3 separate regions of the Homo sapiens genome follow, and regions 1 and 2 are each linked to region 3. Evidence: promoter capture Hi-C in 16 types of primary human blood cells and fetal thymus (Javierre and others, 2016). All regions are on one chromosome and are shown on one strand. The core of a region is centred on a gene start or on the middle of the fragment in contact, and the rest is flanking DNA. Distances in the headings are between cores, read along the strand shown.

The links. Contacts are between HindIII fragments. The CHiCAGO score rates a contact against its expected background, and 5 or more counts as called.
Region 1: a fragment that was not itself captured here is called in contact with the fragment with the promoter of CNIH3 in region 3 in 2 of 17 cell types (M1 macrophages and M2 macrophages); the score reaches 5.8 in M1 macrophages.
Region 2: a fragment that was not itself captured here is called in contact with the fragment with the promoter of CNIH3 in region 3 in 3 of 17 cell types (M2 macrophages, M1 macrophages and M0 macrophages); the score reaches 8.0 in M2 macrophages.

What each region holds. Positions count from the first base shown.
Region 1 is chr1:224,896,745-224,901,109 of GRCh38, reverse strand. The region is part of intron 1 of LOC105373109 (a long non-coding RNA gene); the gene reads left to right. Among named protein-coding and RNA genes, the nearest start is that of DNAH14, 31 kb to the left of the region's middle. The HindIII fragment of the contact is 622 bases long and covers 2,611-3,232 here.
Region 2 is chr1:224,870,462-224,874,501 of GRCh38, reverse strand. No RefSeq gene overlaps it. Among named protein-coding and RNA genes, the nearest start is that of DNAH14, 57 kb to the left of the region's middle. The HindIII fragment of the contact is 2,698 bases long and covers 404-3,101 here.
Region 3 is chr1:224,613,792-224,617,825 of GRCh38, reverse strand. It overlaps CNIH3 (cornichon family AMPA receptor auxiliary protein 3), which reads right to left and starts at 1,509. Exons shown (of 6, transcript NM_152495.2): 1 at 571-1,509. The coding sequence starts at 651. CNIH3-AS2 (CNIH3 antisense RNA 2) reads left to right here and starts at 1,599. Exons shown (of 4, transcript NR_183287.1): 1 at 1,599-1,628; 2 at 2,090-2,214; 3 at 2,399-2,622. The HindIII fragment of the contact is 4,503 bases long and covers 1-4,034 here.

The sequences.
Region 1 (4,365 bases), core at 1,672-4,171, 280 kb before region 3:
TCTTAAGAACTGAGAGGAAAACAACAGAGTGGAAGGATGCTGTTGGTCATCGCTGGTCCTGATGACACAGTTGAGCCTCTGAATCAACCAGCCTGGAACCACCATTCTTGGGCCTTCCTGTTAAATGAGATAATAAATATTTTAAATTGATTAACCCAACTCTTAAACTTTAATGTTCAATTCAAATCCCTTGGAGGTCCTGTGAAAGCAGAGAGCCTGATTTTGTAGGTCTGGAGTGGTGCCTCAGATTCTGCTTTTCTTGCAAGCCCATGGATGATGCCGATGATGCTCGTCCACAGACTTGGAGTAGCAAAGACTAAAGCCACTCTTTCCTGGGCTTTCTGTTAGTTTCAGTGGAAAGAATGTCACTTAATTTGCTTTTGGTTATAGACGGAATTTAAAATTGAAGATGCTGAGAGAGAGGAAAAAAAGAAAATAGATTGTCTCTGTGGCTGGACATATAAACTGAGAGACCATACTCTTTCTTGTGGATAAATTAGCAGAAGCCTGTAGAGAAAGAGCAGCAGCAGGAAGAGAGGTACAGAACCAAGAGGCAGGAAGAAAACACTATGGGCAGTGGCAGGGGTGGTGATGAAGGTTTTCTGGTTTCCAGTTCCATTCTTTCCTGAGACCCAGCTGCATTCCTGCTCTTAGAAAAACCCTTTGGCTTACGATTGCTCAAATTGTTTTATGCAACCTGCTACTGAATAATCCTGATTAGTGCCGGTGCTCAACCAGTAGGGTCATGCAACTGTGTTTTTGTTTCTCAAATGGGAAGCTCTCTTTGAGAGCAAGTAGCTTTTACTTTCACATGTGCTATAGCATTGACTTTATTTATTTATTTATTTATTTATTTATTTATTTATTTATGAGACAAGGTATCTCTGTCACCCAGAGTGGAGTGCAGTATTGCAATCATAGCTCACTGCAGCCTTCAACTGCTGGGCTCAAGCTATACTCCCACCTCAGCCTTCCAAGTACCTGGGACCACAGGTGCATGCCACCACACCCGGCTAAGTTTTTTTTATTTTTTGTAGAGACAGAGTCTCACTTTGCTGCCCAGGCTGGTCTAGAATTCCTGGCTTCAAGCGATCCTCCCACCTAGGCCCTCCAAAGTGTATATTTTAAAACTTATAGCTTTTTTCCATTTGCTTACTTATTCCCCAGCACCAAACATAGTATCTGATAGATAATTGATGATCTGAAAATTCTGACTCCGTGAATAAAATGATGGACACACTCACAAGAACTTTACAGGAAATATGTATGTAGTTCAGCCAACTCTGATTCCATGTAAATCTCCCTCATATACTTTGTTTTCACCAAATCTGTTAGTACTGTGCTCCTTTGTGCATATGACTATGATAATGATGAAATAAGATGCATATTCTTCTTAAAGCCCTAAAGTTTTGTGTAATGTTCCTTGACAGAAGTGTTGTTCACTACTTATGTTCACTACATAAGATAGTGCTACAATCTGTCATCTTTTTAAAAATAAGTTTTATTGAGATATAATTCACATACCATATAATGTATTCATTTAAAGTGTGCAAGCCGGTTGTTTTTAGTACTCATATAGTCACCAAATTGTACAACCATCACCATAATCACTATTAAAATATTTTTATCATACCTGAAAGAAATCCCATACTATTTAGCAGTCATTCTCAATTTCTTCCCAGCCCACAGCCATGAAGCAACTACTAATGTACTTTCTGTAGATCTACCCATTCTGGACATTTCATGTCAATGGAACTGACTTCTTTACTTAGCCTGATACGTTCAAGATTTATCCATGTTGTAGTGTGTATTAGTACTTCATTTCTTTTCATGTGTGAATTACATAACATTGTATGGATATACCATTTTGTTTATCTCTTCATCTGTTGATAGATGTTTGGGTGATTTCTACTTTGGGGCTATTACAAATAATGCTGTTATGAACATTCATGTACAAGTTATGGTCTGGATATATGTTTTTATTTCTCTTGGGTAGATATCTAGGAGTGGAATTGCTGGGTCTTATGGTAACTGACTCTATGTTTCATCTTTTGAGTTGCCAAACTCTTTTTCCAACGTAGCTGCACCGTTGTACTTTCCCACCAGGAGTATATGAAGGTTCTGATTCCTTCAGCACTTTGTTATTATCTCTCTTTTTATTACAGCCATCCTAGTGGGTATAAAGTGGTATGCCATTGTGATTTTGATTTGCATTTCCCTGATGGCTAAGGAATGCATAATCTTTTGTCTGATAAAATTGAGAGGAAATGAATTTTTCTGGATAATCAACCATCTCTTATTTGTTTAGGATGTTTCTTCCAATAGGCTTTTTTTCCCCAATAAAACAGTTTTCATGCTTTCCAATTTACTTAAAAATCAGAACAATCCACCGTCATTATTTTTATCTAGGTGTTTCACATATGTATGCCCCCTGAAGGACACACATATTTATAACCCCATAGTCCCTATTGCAATAGTTCTTTGTGTGATGTAGGTATTTTACAAAGACATAATGAATGAATAAAGTAATAATACTTCAAAGAAAAGCTGTATTTTATCCTAGCAACTGTTCTCATGAGAACAGCAAGCAGCAGTACTCAGAGTGAAGCTTTTCAGAGCTGCTAGATATTTTTGATTCAATCTTTGCTTGCCCATTAAAACATTCATTGCATTGTGAATAAGAAAATCCAAACAATCTCCCACCCACCACAACTTTGCAAACCACAAATACATAAATCAGAAGATGTAGTTCATGACAAAAATTCTGGATTATGAGAGAATGGGGATGGTAAATGGATTGAGACAACTGAGAGACTGAATAGACAAATGGACAATGGCCAGAACATATATAAAAATAGAACTCTGATCCACAACCTGCAGCAATCAGGCCAGGAAACAACCCTATTATCTACAATAAACAGCCCAGGAAGCCAGTCTATGATCCACAAGTCAGACTTGCTGGAGATTTGACTACTATCTCTAAGAAACAGTCCAGGAACCCAAACAATAACTCCTGTAACAATTGGCCTCAAATGGCCAGCACTTGCTTCAATAATTGACAGCTTCTTTAATTTTTCTACTTCCAACTTAGGAACTACCAGAAAAAGTCAAATATGCACCCCTAAACATTACACAGGATGCCTCATTTATAGGTAGTCTGTCTGCAGCTTCCCCATGCCAACAGCTTCCAATCAGGGTACACATGAATTCTCTTTTTCCCTACTATAAAGCTTTCCCACTCCTCTGCCTGCCTTTGAATCTCTGCCAAAATGCAAGGGATGACTCCCTCACTATAGTAATCTCTGAATGCATATCCACTCCCTGTTCTCATGTGGTTGGTCTTTATTTCCACACAGGCTGTTTGGATTTAATATCCTAGCCTGATTTAGAATCTGCTTAACTATTTTCTGAATCCAGTTGAAAGAAGTAGTATTCCTATGACAGTCAGGTTACTATGAGTCAGTCTGGTGGCATGGAAAGCGCATGAGGCTTGGAGCTAAGAGATGATTATTGTAGTCCCAGCACACTGCTAATCACTTTGTGACTCTGGGCATGTGGCTGCTGGAGAGTTAGGTTTCTCTAGTTATAAAGTGGGAATAGTGGAGGCCTAAACTATATCTCTAAAATAGCTTCTGTTTCTTAATCACAGAATACTAGAAATGGTTTCAAATAATTTGTGATCAACTGCCTCCTCTAACCTTCTAACCTCATTCTCATCTGTTATGGACTGAATGTTTGTGTCCCCTCCAAATTCATATGTTTAAATCCTACCCCCCAATGTGATGATATTAGAAGCAGAGCCTTTAGGAAGTAATTTGGTCGTGAGGGTTGTCTTAGTCTGTTCATGTTGCTGTAACAGAAGACCATAAAATGGGTAGAATATAAACAAAAGAAATTTATTTCTCACAGTCCTAGAGGCTGGGAAGTGCAAGATCAAAGCACCGCAGATTGGCTATCTGGTGAGGGCCTGTTTCCTTGTTCATAGAAACTGCATCTTCTTGCTGTATCTTCACATTGTGGAAAGGACAAGGCAGCTCTCTGGGGCCTCTTTTGTAACACTTCTGCTGAAACTTTGAGAAAATAGAAAAAAGTCTTAATGTTGTGGAGTAGTACAGATTGAAAACAACTGTTCTATTCCATTTGGATACAACAAATATGCTCCATTGGTCTGCGGTGTGTAAATACTTGATCTTTCTCATCAACCATAGTAAGAGGGGAAATCTAAAAGTCCAGGCTACCCTGACAAGGCTCCCACGTCTCTCTCCCTGATGTGCCTGGGGTGCCTAGTGCATCTAAGTCATTAGTGGAACCTGTATGGTGTGGCCCCATCTGGACGTGTGTCTACTGAGGAGGTGTACTGCTTCT
Region 2 (4,040 bases), core at 503-3,002, 260 kb before region 3:
TTTTAAAGGCAATATCAAATCAATATTTAAAAGAGTGAGGGTAGGAAATCCAGTAGAATTGCAAACCCATTACAGATAGATTTCAATGGTCTGGATTCGTTAAGAAAAAGGATTTTAAAATAAAAATGCATTAGGTCTACAGTCAACATGATCCTCATATTTTGCTCTCTGACCATGGCTCAGAAATTGCCAGGTCTGGCCTCTCATTTCTTCTTTCCCAGGATTACAAGGAAGACTTTGAACTCAGCTCCAGAGTTCACCTAAAGATTAACCTGTAAATGGACTGTAGCTGTTAAAAAGAAAAAAAAATTGTGAGTCCATTAGGCTGAGAAGACTCTTGTGCCTCAGATTCCTGCAAAAGCAAACCTAAGCTCAATATAAACAGAAAAATGAAACTTAAGCTTAACCAATCAGAAACCACCAGTTAACCTCTAACTAGGAACTTTCCACTTTAGCCAAATTTTTTTTTATATAAAAGTAAATATTTTTTACTTCCCCAAACACCTTATAAAATTTTCCTCTCTCTGCCTCCCGGGTCCCCCACAGTGGAGTGCTGAACCATGGGTGGTCCAGTGTTATTGATTCATGAATTCCTGTCTACTCAAATATACTCTTTAAAGTTTTAATGTGCCTAAGTTTATCTTTTAAAATAGCCCATGATGTGGTGGCTTTTAAACTTTATTTGGGGATGATAATCAGAGGTGCCATAAGCAGCAGTGAGATTTTAAATGAGTCACTAAAACCCGTCTTGGCTCAGTTTTCCTTATTGTGAAATGAGGCATCTGTGGATTTATGACAAGAGCTAGGAAGCGTGGAGTAATCTGTAGGTGGGAAAAAAGAATTGCAGATCATATGAAAGATTTAGCAGCAGACTTCCACAGTTGTCATGTAGAAAAGGTCAGATGCATGTTTCTTTATGCCCAGCCCCCAGCTGGGTGTCTGATCTTGCCTGCCTCCTCAGTGAAGGAGAGGAGGGGAGAGTTGGTGAAAGGAGAGGGAGTGAATAGGAGAGGAGACAAGGAGGGAGAAGAGAAAGGAAAGAGAATAAATGAATGAGTAATGAATGAGTGATGCAGGGAGGTCAATGCGTGAAGGTGATGGGTTACTCACACTCATCAAGCCTGGTGACAAGTGGACCTGGGCAGAAGTAGCTGGATGAGTCCCTAAAGCCTCTAGCCTTTCCCTAGCCTTTCAAGGTGCTCTAGTCACTTCTCTGGAGAAGGAGGTGGAGCCACCCTACCTCAGCTCTGCAGCCCCAGAGCTGGAGAAAATGCTCCAAACTGCAGAAGCCTGGCCAGGGTGCTCAACACTGCAACATTTTTTACAGTTGCTGCTTTTCTCAAAGACTTTTAAATGATGGTTGTAATACTGGAAAATGAGTGTTTAAATCATACTTTAGACAGGAGGGAACCTAAAACTTATTCGATTCCACCTTTTAACTTTGTGGATAAAGAAAACAAAGACCATATTTTATTGCAGCATACTCTCATGAATAATGACACACTTTGTAGAAAACGTCCAATAAAAGATGACCTATTGATGGCAGTGCTATTTCACAGCTGCTTCTATATTGAATCTCCCCAACTGGATTGAAAATATATCAAGGACAGAGATGGTGACGAGCCACTTCTTAGTTTTGCATCAAACAGAGGCCCATGAACACTGCACATGCTTATAAATATGCAACACCCAAGCCATACAATGCACATAAAGCACACATATGTGCACACATAGAGAATACACTCTGTCATCCATACGCACACATGTATGTATGCGCACACATGCATATGCCACACGTGCATGTGCCATACACGTGCACATAGAAACACATTCACTCACATACCTACACCAGGACTGTAATACACATACACGTACCTGTGCATCTGCACACACATGCACACTTATGCACATAAACAAGCATGCACATATACATATGCACCCATCCTCTAAATTCTGTTTTCTGGACCAATCCACAAGTGCTGCATGACTAATAAGGCCATGAGTGATTTTACTGAACACACTGATTGTTGTTTAAAATCTGTACCAATAGCTCTTTGAGAAAATAATCTAAATATATTGTTCTCAAGTCCCTCAACTGAGACTAAAAAATTATAATAGGCTCTGAAGAGAAGTTAGCTTTATAAGAAAATAAGACAGCCCCAAAATACTGCTCTCTACCATATGACAGCACCTCGGGGGGATTTATTCACATTTTTATACCTGTTCTGAGGGAAAGAAAAACACTTGGTTCTCCCAGAGAAGAAAGATGTACAAAAGAATACTAGTAATAATAATAAAAACAGCAATCAACCTGTATTCCATCCATCTGCTCTGACAAAGTAATGCTTTTAAAACATAAGTCTGATGATATCACTGGTCTACCTTAAACCTTCCAATAGCTTCCCCTCACTCAGAGTCAAATGCAAACTCTCAACAATGGCCTTCAAGGCCCTGCAGAATCTGGCCCCCATGACTTTTTTCTCTGCCCTCATCTCTCTCTGCTTCGGCCCCAACTCCTTCCTATTCTAAACATACTAAACAAGACCCCAACCCAGGACCTTAGCGGCTGTGGTTGCCTCTGCCTAGAGCACCTTTCCCCAAAGCAGGCAGAGGTTCACACCCAAATGTGACCATCTTCTATAAACTCACACATGCGATCCCCTTCCCCTGCTGGACTTTTTCTTCACAGACCTTATTGCCACCTGCACTGTACATCTGTTTTCCCCTCGCCAGACTGTAAGCTCGATCCGAGCAAGGACTTTTTTCACTCACCACAGGATCCCCATGGCCTAGAATGGCATCAGACATGTACTATTGACTACTAAATGCCCAAGAAGTCTACACTGAATGAATAAATGAATTGCTTGAACACATATTCTATGCCGGGCACTTCCTAAGTGCTTTATATGCTTTATCTCATTTAGTACTTTATGAGGTAGGCATGGGTATGAGCCTCTCTGAGGCTCAGAGAGTTCAAGTAGCATGCCCAGGTAGCTACCTGAGTGTCCCCACTACATGGAAACTGCTGATCCGAGAGAGAGAGAGAGAGAAAGCCAGAGAATGCCGAAGATGAGAACTATGATCTTTTTATAATCTAAGCTTGGTGATGACATCCAATTACTTTTGCTATGTTTTATTCATGATAACTGAATTGGTAAGTCCAGACGCACTGCAGAGAAGGGGACTGCTGACACAGTGCATGAATACCAGGAGATGAGGACCATCTTAGAGAAGGTCTACCACACTTCTTTCTGTCCATCAGACTAGCTCCTTGGCAAATCAGGAATAAAGTGCTCACTGTTGGGAGATGTAGAGATACATAATTCTGCCTCTACAAGGGTGTTTTTTTAACCAATACATAATTTTGTACATATTTATAAGGTACATGTAATATTTTGTTATATGCAAGAATGAGTAATAATCAAGTGAGGGTATTTGGGGTATCCATCACCTCTAGTATTTATCATTTCTATGTGTTGGGAACATTTCAAGTGTTCTCTTCTAGCTATTTTCAACTATACAATACTTTGTTGCTAACTATAGTCACTCTTTTTTGCTATCAAACATTAGAACTTATTCCTTCTATCTCACTGTCTGCACCCATTAACCAACTTCTCTTTATTCCCCCATCCCATCCAGACACCTTTCCCAGCCTTCAGTATCTATCATTCTACTCCCCATCTCGATGAAATCAACTTTTTGGCTCTGACTTATGAGTGAGAACATACAATATTTGTCTGTCTGTGTCTGGCTTATTTCACTTAACATAATAACCTCCAGTTCCATCCATGTTGCTGCAAAGAACATGATTTTTCATTCTTTTTTTGTGGCTGAATAGTTTACACTGTGTATATATGCCACATTTTCCTTATCTATTCATCTATCGAACACTTAGTTTGATTCCATATCTTTACTATTGTGAATACTGCTGCAATAAATATGGCAGTGCAGATACATCTTTGAAATGTTGATTTCTCTTCCTTTCGATAAATACCCAATAGTGGGATTCCTAGATCATACGGTAGTTCTATTTTTAGTTT
Region 3 (4,034 bases), core at 260-2,759:
TCCTTGCTCTTCTCCTTCTCGCCTTTCCCCCACCGCCTTCCACTTCGACCCCCATCGCCTGGTCTCCTTCCTCTCCGTGGGCTCGGCTTCTCCCTACCTCTTACAAGGCGCTCCCGTCGTGTTTCCACTTTGTCTCCAATTATATCTAAATGCAACCCACCACAGATGCTGACATTTTAAATGTTTAGTTATTATAGCTACTTGACTAATTGCCGGGACCGACGGCGGCGCTTCTCCTTCGCCTCCCGCCGGCAGGAGAGGACGGGGCGGGAGAGGAAGGGGTTAGTTGTGGTTGTAGCCGCCACTCCCCGGCGCCCGGGACCCGGGACGCCCAGTCGGGCCCTGCAGAGGGTGTCCTACCTGGGCACCAGCGGCCCCTCGCCTCCAGCCAGGGCACCGAAGGCGCGCCCGGCGGGATGCAGCGAACTGCCTCCTGCCCCGGGACAGTGGAGCGGCAGAAGGTCCAACCTTCCGGTTCGCCCACGCCCGCAAGGTGGAAAAAGTGGGGTGAAATCGGGGAAATTTAGCGAAATTGGGGCGAAAGAAGAGAGACCAAAGCGTGTTACTCACGTGCCAGATGGCGAAGAAGATGAGCGCAGCGCACAGCACCAGAGACAGCATGTAGCAGAACGCAGCGAAAGTGAAGGCCATGGCCGGCGGACCCCAATCCCACCACACACGCCAAGAAGCCCCTAGGAGCCCGATGCCTCCCTAGAGGACCGCACTCCCTCCAAGGAGCCGCGTCTGCACGCTCCTCTCCAGGCTAGTGCCCAGGAGGGCGCACAGCTAGCGAAGCGACTCGAGGGTCAGCGAATAAGCGCTGGATTCCCGCAGGCTCCGGCGACCCCAGACCCGGCCCTCCGGCGAAGACAGGAAAACGTGTGTCGAGAGTCGCTGGAGGGAACCGTCCGCAAATCGAAGAAGAAACCAAATCAGCAGCGAACACCTGCAAATTAGTGCCAAGCTGTGAGCCCCTCGAGACCAACACGACAAGCGATGCGACGACTCCACGGAGGACCGAGGGAGGAGGTCCCATTCGCCCCAGGAAGAGCTCTCTGCTTTTCTCCACTAAACCGCTGAGGAGAGACGAGCGCTCCGCTCCGGACCCTCCCGCGCCACCGGGGCGCAAACGGATAGTGTCCAGCGAGGTGCCCGAGCGGCCTCCGAGCTCCTCCCAAATCCCAGAGCCGGGCAGCGCTCTTTCCCGAGAGAAGGAGTCTTTAGGTAGCCGGGAGGAGGTAGGTCCCGTTGGTCCTGCGCCCCAGACGCGGCTTCCAGCGCAGCCGTGCGCTCCGAGGCGCGCCCGTCCCCAACCGTGACTCCGGCCAGCCGGCCTCCGCAACCCAAGTGTCCCGGAAACCGGGGGTCGGACCGGGGCGAGCACTGGCTCCACCCAACGGGCCAACTCCAGCCCGGGTGGCTGCAGCAGTGGGTTTCAGGCCAAACGCTGTAGCTCGCTCCACCTGCTGCTGCCGCTGCCGCCGCCGCCGCCGCCGCCTTTGCCACTGCGAGAACTGTAGCGGTGCGACCCGGGATTCCCTCCTCTCGGCGCCCCACCCTCGACTCCTGTTCCGCTGAGCGCGCCCTCCCCGGCGGGCGGAGACTGCAGCGCCGGGGGCTGAGGAAAGGTGGGTGGCGAAGCGCCGCCGGGCGCTTGGTGGCCGCTGCCGCCGCCACTGCAGCTGTGCACGCCCGCCTCTCGGAGGAAACTTGAAGCCAGCAGTACAAGCAGGGCTGGAGGCCGAGCGGAGGTGGGGCGGGACCGGTTGGAGCAGGGACTCTTTAAACACGTGCGTCTGGAGGAGGTGGGAAGCTGCGGAAGGGTATGGTGTGTGCCTCGCGCCTAAACGCCGCAGCCGCCCCTCCCGGTTCTTGCAGTTTCGCCTATCGGAGTGGGAAGTGTGGGGACTTGGGGCGTTGCCTAGTGTTGGTTGGGGATACAGTGCAAGCCTTGGATCCCAAAGCTGCTTGGATGGATTTTACCAAACTGTAGCATACTCAGTGCTTAGGGCTGCGTTTACTGCTCTGCTCCCAGACCCTGCAAAATTCTCCATTAACGTCCTTCCGTTGCATCCTCTACCCTCCCCAGCCATCCGACCTTGGGACTAGGGAAACGTGGACTTGGTGGGCTATTCTGCGCTGAAGAGGCAGCAACGAGGGCTCGGTGGTATTGGTGTTGGTCCTAGTGGAATTGTCAAGAGGATGCTTTTGAAGGTAGACCGTTTTCTAGCTGCAAGTTACCTAACCTCTTTAATCCTTAGTTTCCTTATCAGAAAAACATAAATAAGAGTAGAGTCAAGCCATTTCAAAGGATTAAAAGGGAACATAAGTAAAAAACCTAGCACTTGGTATACGTTCAATAAGTGGTAGGGATTATTAATTGCACCCTTTCCCCCAGTGGCCCAGCATCTTGGAAGTTCACCATGCTTGCTTTGCAAGAGATTCCTGACGCTGCAGTGAAAGAGGTCCAGTCATTCCAGAGAGAACTTCAGTTTCAGACAAGTCATCAAATCCAGAAAGCAAGGAAAAATACCCTGAAAGACGACTGGCAAATCTCGGTGAAAGAGTAGACGCACTTCATGGATTGGAGTGAATCTTAGAGCACCTGGTACCTTGCACAGGGTGGGAACTAGATAAATAACTATTGCTTGATTCTGACTCTGGTGTGCTAGTTTTCCTGTTCACAGATGTGATTCCAATGCCTTGAGAGCTGGAAGGGATGAATTCCAGCAAGATAGAGATACAGCTTTCTAGTGACAGAACTGGAATCCTGTCTGCGGACTCCTAATCCTGGGCTCTTTCTACTATGCCCCAACATTCCTGCAGCTATTTGGCCACATCTTTTACTTATTTATTTATTTATTTATTTATTTATTTATTTATTTATTTGACGGAGTCTCACTTTGTCGCCAGGCTGGAGTGCAGTGGCGTGATCTCTGCAACCTCCACCTCCCTGGTTCAAGCGATTCTCCTGCCTTAGCCTCCCGAGTAGCTGGGACTACAGGCACGCACCACCACGCCCAGCTAATCTTTGTATTTTTAGTAAAGACGGGGTTTCACCATGTTGGCCAAGATGGTCTCGATCTCTTGACCTCGTGATCTACCCACCTCGGCCTCCCAAAGTGCTGGGATTACAGGCGTGAGCCACCGCTCCAGGCCCTTCAATTTATTTTATTTTATTTTTTTGAAGACAGTCTTGCTGTGTTGCCCAGGCTGGAGTGCAGTGGTGCTATCATAGCTCACTGTAGCCTCAAACTCCTTGCTAGGACTACAGGCATGCACCACCACACCCAGATAATTTTTGTTTTGTTTTGTTTGCAGACATAGGTCTCAATATATGGCCAGGCTGGTCCCAAACTCCTGGCCTCAAGCAGTCTTCCAGCCTTGGCCTCCCAAAGCGCTGGGATTATAGGTGTGCACCACAGTGCCTGGCCTCATATCTCCCTCCAGTTTAGAAACTAGATGCCTTTCAGTGAGAAGTGGAGAAATTAGAGCAAATCCAGAGGCTGATGACCAGAGCAATGAACCGATCTACATTTTATTGCCTCTGGGTCAGGACCGGCTACATACTTTGGAGGGCCAAGTGCAAAATGAAAATGTGGGACTTTGTATTAGGCCGTTCTTGCATTGCTATAAAGAAATACCTGGCCAGGCATGGTGGTTTATGCCTGTAATCCCAGTACTTGGGGAGGTCGAGGTGGGCAGATCACCTGAGCTTAGGTATTTGAGACCAGCCTGGACAACATGGCAGAAACCCCATCTCTACAAAAAATACAAAAATTAGCCGGGTGTGGTGGCATGCACCTGTAGTCCCAGCTTCTTGCAGGGCTAAGGTGAGAGTGTTGCTTGAGCCCAGGAGGTCAAGGGTGCAGTGAGCTGTGTTCATACCACTGCACTCCAGCCTAGGCAATAGAGCCAGACCCTGTCTCAAAAAAAAAAAACAAAAACCTGAGGCTGGGTACTTTATAAAGAAAACAGGTTCAATTGGCTCACCGTTCTGCAGGCTGTACAAGCACGGCACCAGCATTTGCTCG